2 separate regions of the Homo sapiens genome follow, and region 2 is linked to region 1. The links are contacts of gene promoters, found by promoter capture Hi-C in blood cells and fetal thymus (Javierre and others, 2016). All regions are on one chromosome and are shown on one strand. Each heading gives the region's core, a stretch centred on a gene start or on the middle of the fragment in contact. The rest is flanking DNA. Distances are from core to core; before and after follow the strand shown. Region 1 holds the start of KLF2 (KLF transcription factor 2). Region 2 overlaps LOC124900418 (collagen alpha-1(I) chain-like).

The links. The method cuts DNA at HindIII sites, captures the fragments that hold promoters and counts their contacts. A CHiCAGO score of 5 or more calls a contact.
Region 2: a contact is called between a fragment that was not itself captured here and the fragment with the promoter of KLF2 in region 1, in 2 of 17 cell types (naive CD4 T cells and non-activated CD4 T cells). The highest score is 7.6, in naive CD4 T cells.

Annotation. Positions count from the first base shown.
Region 1 is chr19:16,321,528-16,327,325 of GRCh38, forward strand. It overlaps KLF2 (KLF transcription factor 2), which reads left to right and starts at 3,299. Exons shown (of 3, transcript NM_016270.4): 1 at 3,299-3,471; 2 at 3,689-4,505; 3 at 5,329-5,798. The coding sequence starts at 3,397. The coding sequence ends at 5,504. It overlaps KLF2-DT (KLF2 divergent transcript), which reads right to left and starts at 3,143. Exons shown (of 2, transcript NR_186323.1): 1 at 2,780-3,143. RefSeq lists a promoter at 2,609-3,444, silencers at 2,817-3,546, 3,637-3,886, 3,917-3,966, 4,437-4,526 and enhancers at 3,094-3,866, 3,867-4,637. The HindIII fragment of the contact is 6,001 bases long and covers 1,431-5,798 here.
Region 2 is chr19:15,834,309-15,840,603 of GRCh38, forward strand. It overlaps LOC124900418 (collagen alpha-1(I) chain-like), which reads left to right. Exons shown (of 3, transcript XM_047439793.1): 3 at 910-3,072. The coding sequence starts at 2,094. The coding sequence ends at 2,699. UCA1 (urothelial cancer associated 1) reads left to right here. Exons shown (of 3, transcript NR_015379.3): 3 at 194-2,013. Among named protein-coding and RNA genes, the nearest start is that of UCA1, 8.5 kb to the left of the region's middle. RefSeq lists enhancers at 630-1,829, 2,610-2,839, 2,980-3,129 and a silencer at 2,260-2,479. The HindIII fragment of the contact is 1,368 bases long and covers 1,402-2,769 here.

The DNA.
Region 1 (5,798 bases), core at 2,049-4,548:
TAAAAGTCCAGACCAGGCGCTGTGAGTCACGCCTCCCAAATCCCAGCACTTTGGGAGGCCAAGGCGGGCGGATCACTTGAGGTCAGGAGTTTGAGACCAGCCTGGCCAACATGGTGAAACTCTGTCTCTACTAAAACAAAACAAACAAACAAACAAAAATTAGCTGGGCATGGTGGCGGGTGCCTGTAATCCCAGCTACCTAGGAGGCTGAGGCAGGAGAATCCCTGGAACCCGGGAGGCGGAAGCTGCAGTGAGCCAAGATTGAGCCACTGCATTCCAGCCTGGGCAACAGAGCAAGACTCTGTCTCAAAAATAAACAAATAAATAAAGTACGTTAGTTAAGGGAGGTTGAAAAAAAAGAGAGAGAGAGAGACAGGCAGAGACGACGGAGCTTCACAATTGGAAATGGAAAGAAAGGAACGCTGGTCGGGGGCGCAGTGAGCGCAGAGGGGAATGTGCTTGGTGTGTTTCAGGACCCAAACAGAGACAGTGAGAGAGGAGGAAGGCAGAGAGGTACCTCAGACAAGCTGCAGGTGCCAGTGAGCAAGGCTCAGAGGCCCAGGGGACCAAGGTGCTCTCTGACAAACTAGAGGGATGCTGTGGTCAGAGGTCTTTTTTTTTTTTTTTTTCTTTTAATTAGACAGAGTCTTACTCTGTCACCCTGTCACCCAGGCTGGAGTGCAGTGGCACGGTCTCGGCTCACTGCAACCTCCACCTCCCAAGTTCAAGCGATTCTAGCCTCTTCAGTAGCTGGGATTATAGGCACACGCCACCACGCCCGGCTAATTTTTGTATTTTTAGTAGAGACAGGGTTTCACCGTGTTGACCAGGCTAGTCTCCAACTTCTAACCGCAAGTGATCTGCCCGCCTCAGCCTTCCAAAGTGCTGGGATTACAGGTGTGAGCCACTGCGCCCAGCCGACGGTCTTGGCCAAAGCAAAGGAACAAACAAACAAAAACCCTTCCCGGCAGCTGCCCAGGCATCCCATATCCTTGAGGAGAAATTCCTGATTCCCTTAATCTTTCCATCATTATCATACGGGGAAACTGAGGCCCAGAGAAAGGCAATTCAATTCCCAAAGCACACAAGCAGGCCCATCTCCCAAGCGCTGGTAGAGAATTCAGTGTCACACAAGATGTCACCTACTTCCACAACAAAGAAAAGAGCCTGTGTGAACTCACAATAGCCATTTGGGGTAAGGTACTATTCTTATCTGCATTTCGAAGATTGAGGAGGCAAGCCCAAACAGCCAAAGCCACTGGTTCAAGGTCACACAGCGCGTGCTCAGTGGCTGAGGCTGACTCGCAGCCATTTCAGTGGCAACTGCAGAAAGCAAGTTTGTATTCAACTTGAAGTCTCCGGTGACTGGGTTTGGTGGGGGCTGCAGAGGGGACCCTGCAGAGTGCATTTCTGCAGAGGCTGAGAGTCCAAGCTTCCAGGGCAGGAGCTGCCTGCATCCCTCACCACCTGGCTCCAAGTTCCTCCTTGGGATGCTCTTCCTCCCATACCCACATGGTCCCCAATGACTTTTTCACATTAGCTCACATTTCACCCCCTGGGTGAGATTCAGAATTTCCCCATTTTCTCCTTCCCACTCCCTCATCTCACACTCACTTTCTAGTCCCTTCTACTGCTCCATTTTTCTTTTTAAACCCCTATCAGTAAGGCCAGGCGCAATGGCTCACACCTGTAATCCCAGCACTTTGGGAGGCCGAGGCGGGTGGATCGCCTGAGCCCAGGACTTCAAGACCAGCCTGGGCAACATAGTGAGACCCCGTCTCTACAAAAAAATACAAAAAAAAAAATTTAGCCAGGCATGGTGGTGTGCACCTTGTAATCCCAGCTACTTGGGAGGCTAAGGCAGGAGGATCTCTTGAGCGCAGGAGTTCGAGGCTGCAGTGAGCTGTGATTGCACTACTACACTCCAGACTGGGCAACAGAGGGAGACCCTGTCTCAAAAAAACTCAAATGAATAAACCTCTATCCTTCCCTCCTTCACTAAAGTGGAGGTCCCCTAGGGCAGGGATCTTGTCTATCTCTTGGTTACTGTGTCCCCAGTGCCTACCCAGGGCTGGCAGACAGTTGTAACAGGAGTGACAGTCCCTGGCCAGCAGGGATATGGTGTGGGGGACAGAGGTGGAGCATTGAAGGGACCCATTGGGCAGCATTGTCCTCTGATGCCCCCGATGCTGGAGCTGTATTGGGGGAATGACTGTCATCACCGTCCTCTGAGTTACTTAATTCATTTATGGAAGTCAGTAAAGGAACCCAGCCTGCCTGTGCCTGCCGCAACTCCAACTTCTCCCAGCCACCTCTGCCTCAGTTTCCCTGCACTTGACGGGCTTATTGAGGTTGGGGAGGAGGGGGTGGGTGTCTCAAATGTCAAAGATTTAATGTGTCTTGATGTTACCACACAAAAGTTTTGTTTTGTTTGTTTTTTTGAGACAGTCTCCTCTGTCACCCAGGCTGGAGTGTAGTGGTGTGATTGTATCTCACTGCAGCCTCGACCTCCTGGGCTCAAGCGATCCTCCCACCTCAGCCTCCCACTACACCCAGCTAATTTTTTTTATTTTTTAAGAGATGGGGGCCACTGTGTTGCCCAGGCTGGTCTTGAACTCCTGGCCTCGAGTGATCCTCCTGTCTCAGCCTCCCAAAGCGGTGGGATTACAGATGTGACCCACTGCACCAGGTCTACACAAGGTGTTTTTTTTTACAGGGTGATGTGCACACGGTGGGTCCCTCTGGGTGGTCCCACAACAGATGAGGGGCCCAGCCTCACCCATCCATGAATCCTGGAGACTCCAGACTTCCCATCCATCCAGGGTTCTGCAGCCCTCTCTGAGGCTGGAGCCAATCTCCCCTTCCGTCAAGGGATCCGGGGAGACCGCCAAGCCCGGTGCTCCCCTGAGAGTCTCTGAGAGGCCCCGACACCGCCCCCGCTCCAGGTCCCCGGGATGCTCGCGCAGGCGGGAGCCCGGGGCGCCCGGGGGATCCCTGAGCGTCACGCCGCTGTTGTGGAGCGCGTGTTGACAACGTCGCCGGGGAGACGGGCGGGGGCGGGGCCCGGGAGAGGGGGAGGCGCGGCCCTGGCGGCGCGCGAGGGGCCGGGCTGTCAGCGCAAGGCCCAGGCCGCCGCAGTGGCCACGGCCGCTGCCGCCCGCCGGCTTATATACCGCGGCTAAATTTAGGCTGCGCCCGGAGCTCGTCCCCATCCGGGACGCGTTTCCGCCGCCGCCGCTTTGGCCCGGCCCCCGCGCGCGCCGCGCCTATAAGGCTTGGGCGGGCCCGGCCGCGGCCCACAGAGCCGTCCCCGCCCGCCCGCGCCCCGACCAGCCCGGCCTCGGGCAGCCACTCACCGGTGTCCCCGTCCGCGTCCTTTCTCCCCGGGTCCCGGCCATGGCGCTGAGTGAACCCATCCTGCCGTCCTTCTCCACTTTCGCCAGCCCGTGCCGCGAGCGCGGCCTGCAGGAGGTGAGGGCGGCGGGGACGGCGGGGCGGCCGGGACCGTGGGCGGCGGGCTCGGGGTAGTAGAACGTGGGCTGCGGGGTGACAGGACGCGAAGGCGGGGACTGCAGACTCAGGAGAGGAGGATGCGGGCCACGGGGATCGCGGACTTAGGGTGGTAAAAGGCAAGCAGCGCCCCCCGAGCCCCGCCGCCCGCTCACGCCCATTGCCCTGTCGCCCGCAGCGCTGGCCGCGCGCCGAACCCGAGTCCGGCGGCACCGACGACGACCTCAACAGCGTGCTGGACTTCATCCTGTCCATGGGGCTGGATGGCCTGGGCGCCGAGGCCGCCCCGGAGCCGCCGCCGCCGCCCCCGCCGCCTGCGTTCTATTACCCCGAACCCGGCGCGCCCCCGCCCTACAGCGCCCCCGCGGGTGGCCTGGTGTCTGAGCTGCTGCGACCCGAGCTGGATGCGCCGCTGGGGCCCGCACTGCACGGCCGCTTTCTGCTGGCGCCGCCCGGCCGCCTGGTCAAGGCCGAGCCCCCTGAAGCGGACGGCGGCGGCGGCTACGGCTGCGCCCCCGGGCTGACCCGTGGACCGCGCGGCCTCAAGCGCGAGGGCGCCCCGGGCCCGGCGGCTTCGTGCATGCGAGGTCCCGGGGGCCGCCCCCCGCCGCCGCCCGACACACCGCCGCTCAGCCCCGACGGCCCCGCGCGCCTGCCCGCGCCCGGTCCGCGCGCCTCCTTCCCGCCGCCTTTCGGTGGCCCTGGTTTCGGCGCGCCCGGGCCCGGCCTGCATTACGCGCCGCCTGCGCCCCCAGCCTTCGGTCTCTTCGACGACGCGGCCGCCGCCGCGGCAGCCCTGGGCCTGGCGCCCCCCGCCGCCCGCGGTCTCCTCACGCCGCCTGCGTCCCCGCTGGAGCTGCTGGAGGCCAAGCCAAAGCGCGGCCGCCGCTCTTGGCCCCGCAAACGCACCGCCACTCACACCTGCAGCTACGCGGGCTGCGGCAAGACCTACACCAAGAGTTCGCATCTGAAGGCGCATCTGCGCACGCACACAGGTGGGCGGCACGCACGAGCCAGGAGCGCAGGCGGGGGGACGCGGGAGGAGAGGTCGGATTCCCAGCGCGCGCCAGAAAATGAATTTAGGACCTCCCTTGGGGCGTGGCTCAGGGGGATCTGGCAGGTGGTGCACGCTTAGGACTCCCCAGGAGGCGTGGCTCGGGAGGTTGGTTGGGGGGGCACACAGGAACACTCCCTAAGGAAGTGTGATCCGAGAGGTTGGGGTGGGGGCTTGCACGCTTAGGACGAGGGGGGCCTCCGGAGGTTGGGAAGAGCACTTAGAAAACCTCCTGGAGGCGTGGCTAGGGAGACAGTCTCAGAAAGTTGGGGAGGGGGAGCAGGTTTAGGAGCCGCTGGGCACTTGGCTCAGAATCCCCGGGGCTGAGGCTCAGGTAGTTGGGGAGTAGGTGCGCGTTTAGGAACCCCGGGGAGATGCTGCGTCTCAGGAAGTTGGGGAGGGCGCTCAGGCTTGGGACTCCTCTGGGGACAAGGCTCAGGACCTTGGGGAGGGAGTGTTCGCTGGGAAACCTTGAGAGATTCCGTGTCTTAGAATGCTGGAGAGAGGGTGCATGCTTAGGACCCGTCGGGGAGCGTGGCTGACAACAGTGGGGAGTGGACCTTGCGCTCCTCCGACCCCCTGGGGGTGAGGATCCGGATTGTGGGGGGAGTTGGGGATGTAGGGCAAGGATCCCTCAGGGGCGCAACACTACCGCGGGGAGCGCGTCAAGGCCCTGGTTAGGGATAGGTTGCGCTCGCCGGGGTAGCCATACGTGCCCTGTCCTGGGAGGGGAACTGACGCTTACTCTCGCCCCCTCCCTGCAGGTGAGAAGCCCTACCACTGCAACTGGGACGGCTGCGGCTGGAAGTTTGCGCGCTCAGACGAGCTCACGCGCCACTACCGAAAGCACACGGGCCACCGGCCATTCCAGTGCCATCTGTGCGATCGTGCCTTCTCGCGCTCCGATCACCTGGCGCTGCACATGAAACGGCACATGTAGCCGGGACGCCCCCGCCCACCTGCGCGCGGCCGTGGCGGGTCCCACGCGCCGGGCGCGGCCCCCTCCCAAACTGTGACTGGTATTTATTGGACCCAGAGAACCGGGCCGGGCACAGCGTGGCTACAGAGGGTCTCCCTCGATGACGACGACGACGACGCCACCACCCCAGCCCCCGTCTGTGACTGAAGGCCCGGTGGGAAAAGACCACGATCCTCCTTGACGAGTTTTGTTTTTCAAAATGGTGCAATAATTTAAGTGGCATCTTCTCTCCCACCGGGTCTACACTAGAGGATC
Region 2 (6,295 bases), core at 836-3,335, 490 kb before region 1:
TGCCCTCCTCAGAATTAGGGCCTGTCCTTGAGAAGCCACAGGGTACAACCCATTTCAATTTTATATGGATGCACCTTCTTACTCAGCCACAATCTTGTTCCAGACACCAGCCCCCTGGGCAACTATCTTCCAGTCCTCTAGCAGGCTAGACAGGAAATTTGCCAAGCTGCTAATCTTCTCTTGCCTACTCCAGATTCCCAGCCATATGAAGACACCCTAGCTGGACGATCAGTCCTTGTCAAAAGTCTGACCCCTCAAACTCTACAGCCTCAATGGACCAGACCCTACCCGGTCATTTATAGCACACCAACTGCCGTCCATCTGCAGGACCCTCTCCATTGGGTTCACCATTCCAGAATAAAGCCATGCCCATCAGACAGCCAGCTTGATCTCTCCTCTTCCTCCTGGAAGCCACAAGATTAGGCCGAGAGCCGATCAGACAAACAACCTACAACCCTTAAGCTCCTGGCAGCGCCCAGCCAAGGCCATGCTTCCTTGCAACACTCCTTCCAAATGGCCATCCCAGCATGCTTCCAAGCAGGCTTCATCCGTTCCTCTGGACCCTCATCTCTTAAGACCTGCCGCCTATAAAAAGGATTATATCTTGAGACCCTATCCTCTAAAATTTTTTCCACACCCAAAACAAAAAATCTCTGGGTCAAAAGTCTAAAACGCTTAGGCTGGCAACCATCAGATCCTTGCCCATGGTGTCCTCAAGCCTACTCTCATGAAATGGACAACAGTACACGCATATGGGGCCAGTTCCACATATTTGGCAACCAGACCAGCATCCAGGACAACACAAAGTATGTTGTTTGTTGTTAGAGGGCTTGGGACATTTCACTCTTTGCCAGCCTCAGCTTAATCCAGGAGACAAAGATTATTTTCCTTATTATCTCTTCTGCATAGGATCTGCAATCAGAACTATTGAACTTCTCCATTCAGACCGCCACTCACACCTATGGGAAAAGGGTAATGTATCATCGGCTTAGCAACAGGGAATACTATTCGTATGATGGAAAATGGGGACAAAAGGCTTTGGTACATAAAACATTATTCCTTCCTTGGCCTAAAAACTCATCGCCACCTACATTAAAGCTAATATGCCTGATTACTGTTTTTAGAGAACTTATTTTATTAGGGCAGTTCCAAGCTCAAAAATACGCTAACTGGCACCTTGTTAGCTACATAAAAATGCACCCTAGACCCGAAACTTACTAGACTCATTATAAAATTTTCTTTAAGGTGTCCACGCAGTCCCTGGTCACACTTGAAGCAGTCCGGAGAAATATCAGCCCTACCCCAGTAATCCCCAGAAGGAACTTACACTTTTTTTTAATCTTTTCCTACAACTTCATATTTTATAAATAAAAAGACAAAAATGTCAGGCCTGTGAGCTGAAGCTTAGCCATTGTAACCCCTGTGACCTGCACATATCCGTCCAGGTGGCCTGCAGGAGCCAAGAAGTCTGGAGCAGCCGAAAAACCACAAAGAAGTGAAACAGCCAGTTCCTGCCTTAACTAATTAACCCACCTTACGACATTCCACCATTATGACTTGTCCACCATTATGACTTGTTCCTGCCCTGCCCCAACTGATCAATCAACCCTGTGACATTCTTCTCCTGGACAATGAGTCCCATCATCTCTCCACCATGCACCTTGTGACCCCCTCCTCTGCTGAGGATAACCACCTTTAACTGTAACTTTCCACGCCTACCCAAGCCCTATAAAGCTGCCCCTCTCCTATCTCCCTTCACTGACTCTCTTTTCGGACTCAGCCCACTTGCACCCAAGTGAATTAACAGCCTTGTTGCTCACACAAAGCCTGATTGGGTGTCTTCTATACGGACACGCGTGACAGGAACCTCAACCCAAAGGCAGTCTGATGAGGTGTCTAAGATAAAAGTAGCGGCACAAAGGCTTTTGTAAACAGAGGCGTTTCATGTGGTTTTCCTTTCCTTTCCTTATATGTGAAAAGGTGACAGAAAAGAAATCTTCCTAAAAGAGTCAGCCACTGCTCTGTGGAACGATGATCATTTAAATGCCACGTCGATTTGAAACGTACAACAAAGGGACTAACAGTTGAGAACCATGTGGATTGCAGTGGAGACGCTGGCGTTAGAGAATGCGGGGAGGGAAACGTTCATTACAAGATTTACGGCCAGCCCAAGGGGGAGCGAGGCTGGGGGACCGGGTCGCGGAGACCCGGCTTCGCACACCTTTTGGAAGACTCAGGGAGAAGCGGGGGCCGCCTTCGGGGGGAAAGGCGGGACTGGGGAGCCCACAGGCCATGGCTCCTCCCACAGGATCCCCAGGCCGGAGGCGGGATCCCCCCATGATCCTCCCGTGGCCCCCGCACAATCTGGGGAGATGCGGAGCTGCCCAGAGAGGGCTCTGGGGCGACAGTCACTGCGCAGGGACAGGACAGGACTCCCGGAGTCCCAGCTGCCGGCCCAGCCCCACCCTGCGGCCGAGAGGACCGAGGGCCGAGCTGCTCCAGGGGAACTCGGGTCCCAGACCCCGGAGTCGCAGCGGACAGGCCCGGGTCCCGCCACAGCCAGATCCGGCTGGTTCCACCAGCTCCTCCTCCGGTCTCGGGACGTCCGGCCCCGCACACTCAGCATTTCCGGCTTCCGGGTGTCCCGGCGTCCTCCCCTGGGCCTGCTCACGTCGCAGAGGGGCGGCGACGGGGATTAGAGGGGAGGAGGGCCTGCGCGAGCAGCAAAGACCCCAAACCCCAAAAAACAAAGAAACCGCCAGAAACTGAAGCTTCCACAGCCCGCCACGTCCCCCGGCTACGGCTACGCTCCTGATTGGATAGTTAGTACGGCCCCTAGTGCCCCTGATTGGATACCGCTTCAGGTCCCGCCCCCTGGGGTTAGAAAGACAGGAGACCCGAGAAGACACTTGGCTGCGTGGAGCCCAAATGGGCGGTTCCTGGCAACTGGGCTTGTTGTCTTCCTCGTGTCAGGATGTAAAAAGAAAAGTAGAGGTTCTTCTTCAAAGACTTCCTTCTTCATCTAATTAAGAATAAATAGTGTTTGAAATGCTTGGTTTTTGGTGCCATAAAGAAATAGCACTTTAACATTAATTTATTTAGCAAGGCCATTTTTACTCCCTGCAGAAAGGGTACACTCGCCAGCAGTTTTGCCACGAGCGTACACCGAGCAAAGGAGACAGGGTCATTTATAACCTGAGGTGTCCACCCTACTGCTGTGTCCAGTTTCCATTGGCTGGAACGGGACCTCACATTCTGTGTTTGTCCTGATTGGCTAGCAACTTAGAACGTTTTAAAAGAGGCAAAGGTGGAGGAGAACAAAGGAAGAAGGAAGTAACTTGTGGAATGCTGAGAAAGGTAAAAACACCTTCAAATAAGGAAGAGGAAGAGGCTATGACTTAATGCTTGCTTGGACCAGTATAAGCATACCAGGGCAAATATTTGGGCTAAATTGTGGGAGCTAAGAACATAAAGTATATTGATTTCTTTATTATGGCTAGCAGATATTTAAGAATGTTAGCACAGGTCTTTGAATAAATTTTGCTTTTAAGAGAAGTTACTATTTATTCCTAATCGAATGGGAAGGAAAATTTTTGAAGAGGAACCTCTACTTTACTTTTTACAAACAATAACTTGTTTTAGAAGCAACATTTATTTAAAGACTTGTACTAATATTCTTAAATATTTGCTAGCTGTAATAAAGAAATCAATGTACTTTATGTTCCTAGCTTTTACATTTTAGCTTAAATATTTGCTTTGGCATGCTTATACTAGTCTAACCAAGTATTAGGTCGTAGCTTGTTCTTTATTTGAAGGTGTTTTTACTTTTCTTAGCGTTCTACAAGTTACTTCTTTCTTTTGTTTTCTTCTGCTTTTGCCTTTTTAAAAAAAGTTCTAAGTTGCTAGCTGATTGGGATAAATACAGAGTGTGAGGTCTTGTTCCAGCTAATGGTAACTGGACACAGCAGTAGGGTAGACGCGTCAAGTTGTAAATGACCTTGTCTCTTTTGTTCAGTGTACTCTCGTGGCAAAAACTGCTAGCAAGTGTATCTTTTCTGCGGAAAGTAAGAAACTGGCCTTGCTGAAGAAATTAAATTCATGTTCAAGTGCTATTCTTTACAGCGCCCGAGAACAAGCATTTCAAACAAGGACCTCTGGGGATTGGGGGTGGGGGTGGGGTGACATTTGCAAGTGGACACTGGCATTCATCAGTACTCACTGGGCCCTTCCTCTTTCTTCCTCCTGGACTAGGGGAAATTCCACACAGTGTTGTCCATCAAGAAAAATGCCCAGACAAGGCTCAATCATTTTAGGAGGTTTATTTGCCAAAGTTAAGGACATGCACCCCTGACACAGCCTCAGGAAGTTCTGACATGTGCCCAAGGTGGTCAGGGAACAGTTTGGTTTTATACATTTTAGGGAGACATGAGACATCAGTCAATATATATAAGGAGTATTTGGTTCTATCCAGAAAGATGGGGACAATTCGAAGCAGGGAGAGGGCTTCCAGGTCACGGAGAGACAAGTGGTTGCCTTCTCCTGAGTTTCCAATATGCCTTTCCAAAGGAGGCAATCAGAATATGCGTCTATCTCAGTGAGCTGGAGGGATGACTTCGAATAGAATGGAAGGCAGGTTTGTCCTGAGCAGTTCCCAGCTTGAATTTTCCCTTTAGCTCAGTGATTTTGGGGGCCCAGTGGAGCCAAGGATCCCGTGGCGTCAGAGCAGGAGGGGAGGCCAGGCCAGGCAAGACTGGAACAGGAGGGAGGACCTTTGGGGTGAGGCTGTTGGCAACGAAAGTAAGGGTTTCTCATACCTTATCATTCAATCTATTCCTTTTCATACAAGAAGATAAAGACACAGCAGCAAGAACAATTATTAAATGCATGAAAAAAACAGAGTTATATGACAGCAATATTCCATAAAGGAATCAAAACACAAAAAGGCAAAAAATGAGCTTGTTCAGATAAGCAGGGTGCCACACCCACAGTTCAAAAAGAAAATCGCCTTCAAGGGGTTAAACTTATTCCCAAGCTTGAGAGCCATGTTCTGCTGAAGTGGAGACCCAGGGTGGACCAGACCAGGGGTGACGAGGCAGGGAAACCTAAGGATTTAACTCTGTCAGCCTACCATGTTCTCTTGCCCCATTCTCACAGTGTGGAAATGCTTCCCTCCTTCAATGCCTTGGTTTTTGCCAACAGAAAATTCTCACAAGGAGTTGTTACAGGAGAGGGGTCCTGATCCAGACCCCAAGAGAGGGTTCTTGGATCTCACACAAGAAAAAATTCAGAGTGAGTCCCTAAGCTGAAAGCAAGTTCATTTAAAAAGTAGAGGAATAAGGGCTGGGCATGGTGGCTCATGCCTGTAATCCCAGCACTTAGGGAGGCCGAGGCAGACAGGTCACCTGAGGTCAGGAGTTCAAGACCAGCCTGACTAACATCTAGTGAAACTCTGTCTCTACTAAAAATACAAAAATTAGCTTGGCATAGGGGTGCACGCCTGCAATCCCAGCTACTTGGGAAGCTGAGGCAGGAGAATCGCTTGAATCCAGGAGGATGAAGTTGCAGTGAGCCGAGATAGCGCCACTGCACTCCAGTCTGGGTGACAGAGTGAGACTCTGTCTCTCAAAAAAAAAAAATAAAATAAAGGAATAAAAGAATGGCTACTCCATAGACAGAGCAGTCCCAAGGGCTGCTGGTGGCCCATTTTTATGGTTATTTCTTGATGATATGCTAAACAAGCGGTAGATTATTCATGCCTCCCCTTTTTAGACCATATATGGTAACTTCCTGACGTTGCTATGGCATTTGTAAACTGTCATGGGGCTGTTGGGAGTGTAGCAGTGGGGACCACCAGAGGCCACTCTCGTCACCATCTTGGTTTTGGTGGGTTTTGGCCAGCTTCTTTACTGCAACCTGTTTTATCAGCAAGCTCTTTATGACCTGTATCTTGTGCCAACGTCCTATCTCATCCAATGACTTAGAATGCCTTAACCACCTGGGAATGCAGCCCAGTAGGTCTCAGCCTCATTTTACCCAGCTCCTATTCAAGAAGGAGTTGCTCTGGTTCACATGCCTCTGACAGACTCATTTTAAGATTCAGACCTGAATAAACTGTCAAATTCAAAAACTGTTGTTACTGGAAAGGTGTCTCCATCCAAACCCCAAGAGAGGGTGCTTGGACCTTGTGCAAGAAAGAATTCAGAGCAAGTCCATAAAGTGAAAGCAAGTTTATTAAGAAAGCAAAAGGATGGGCCGGGCCCAGTGGCTCACGCCTGTAAATCCCAGCACTTTGGGA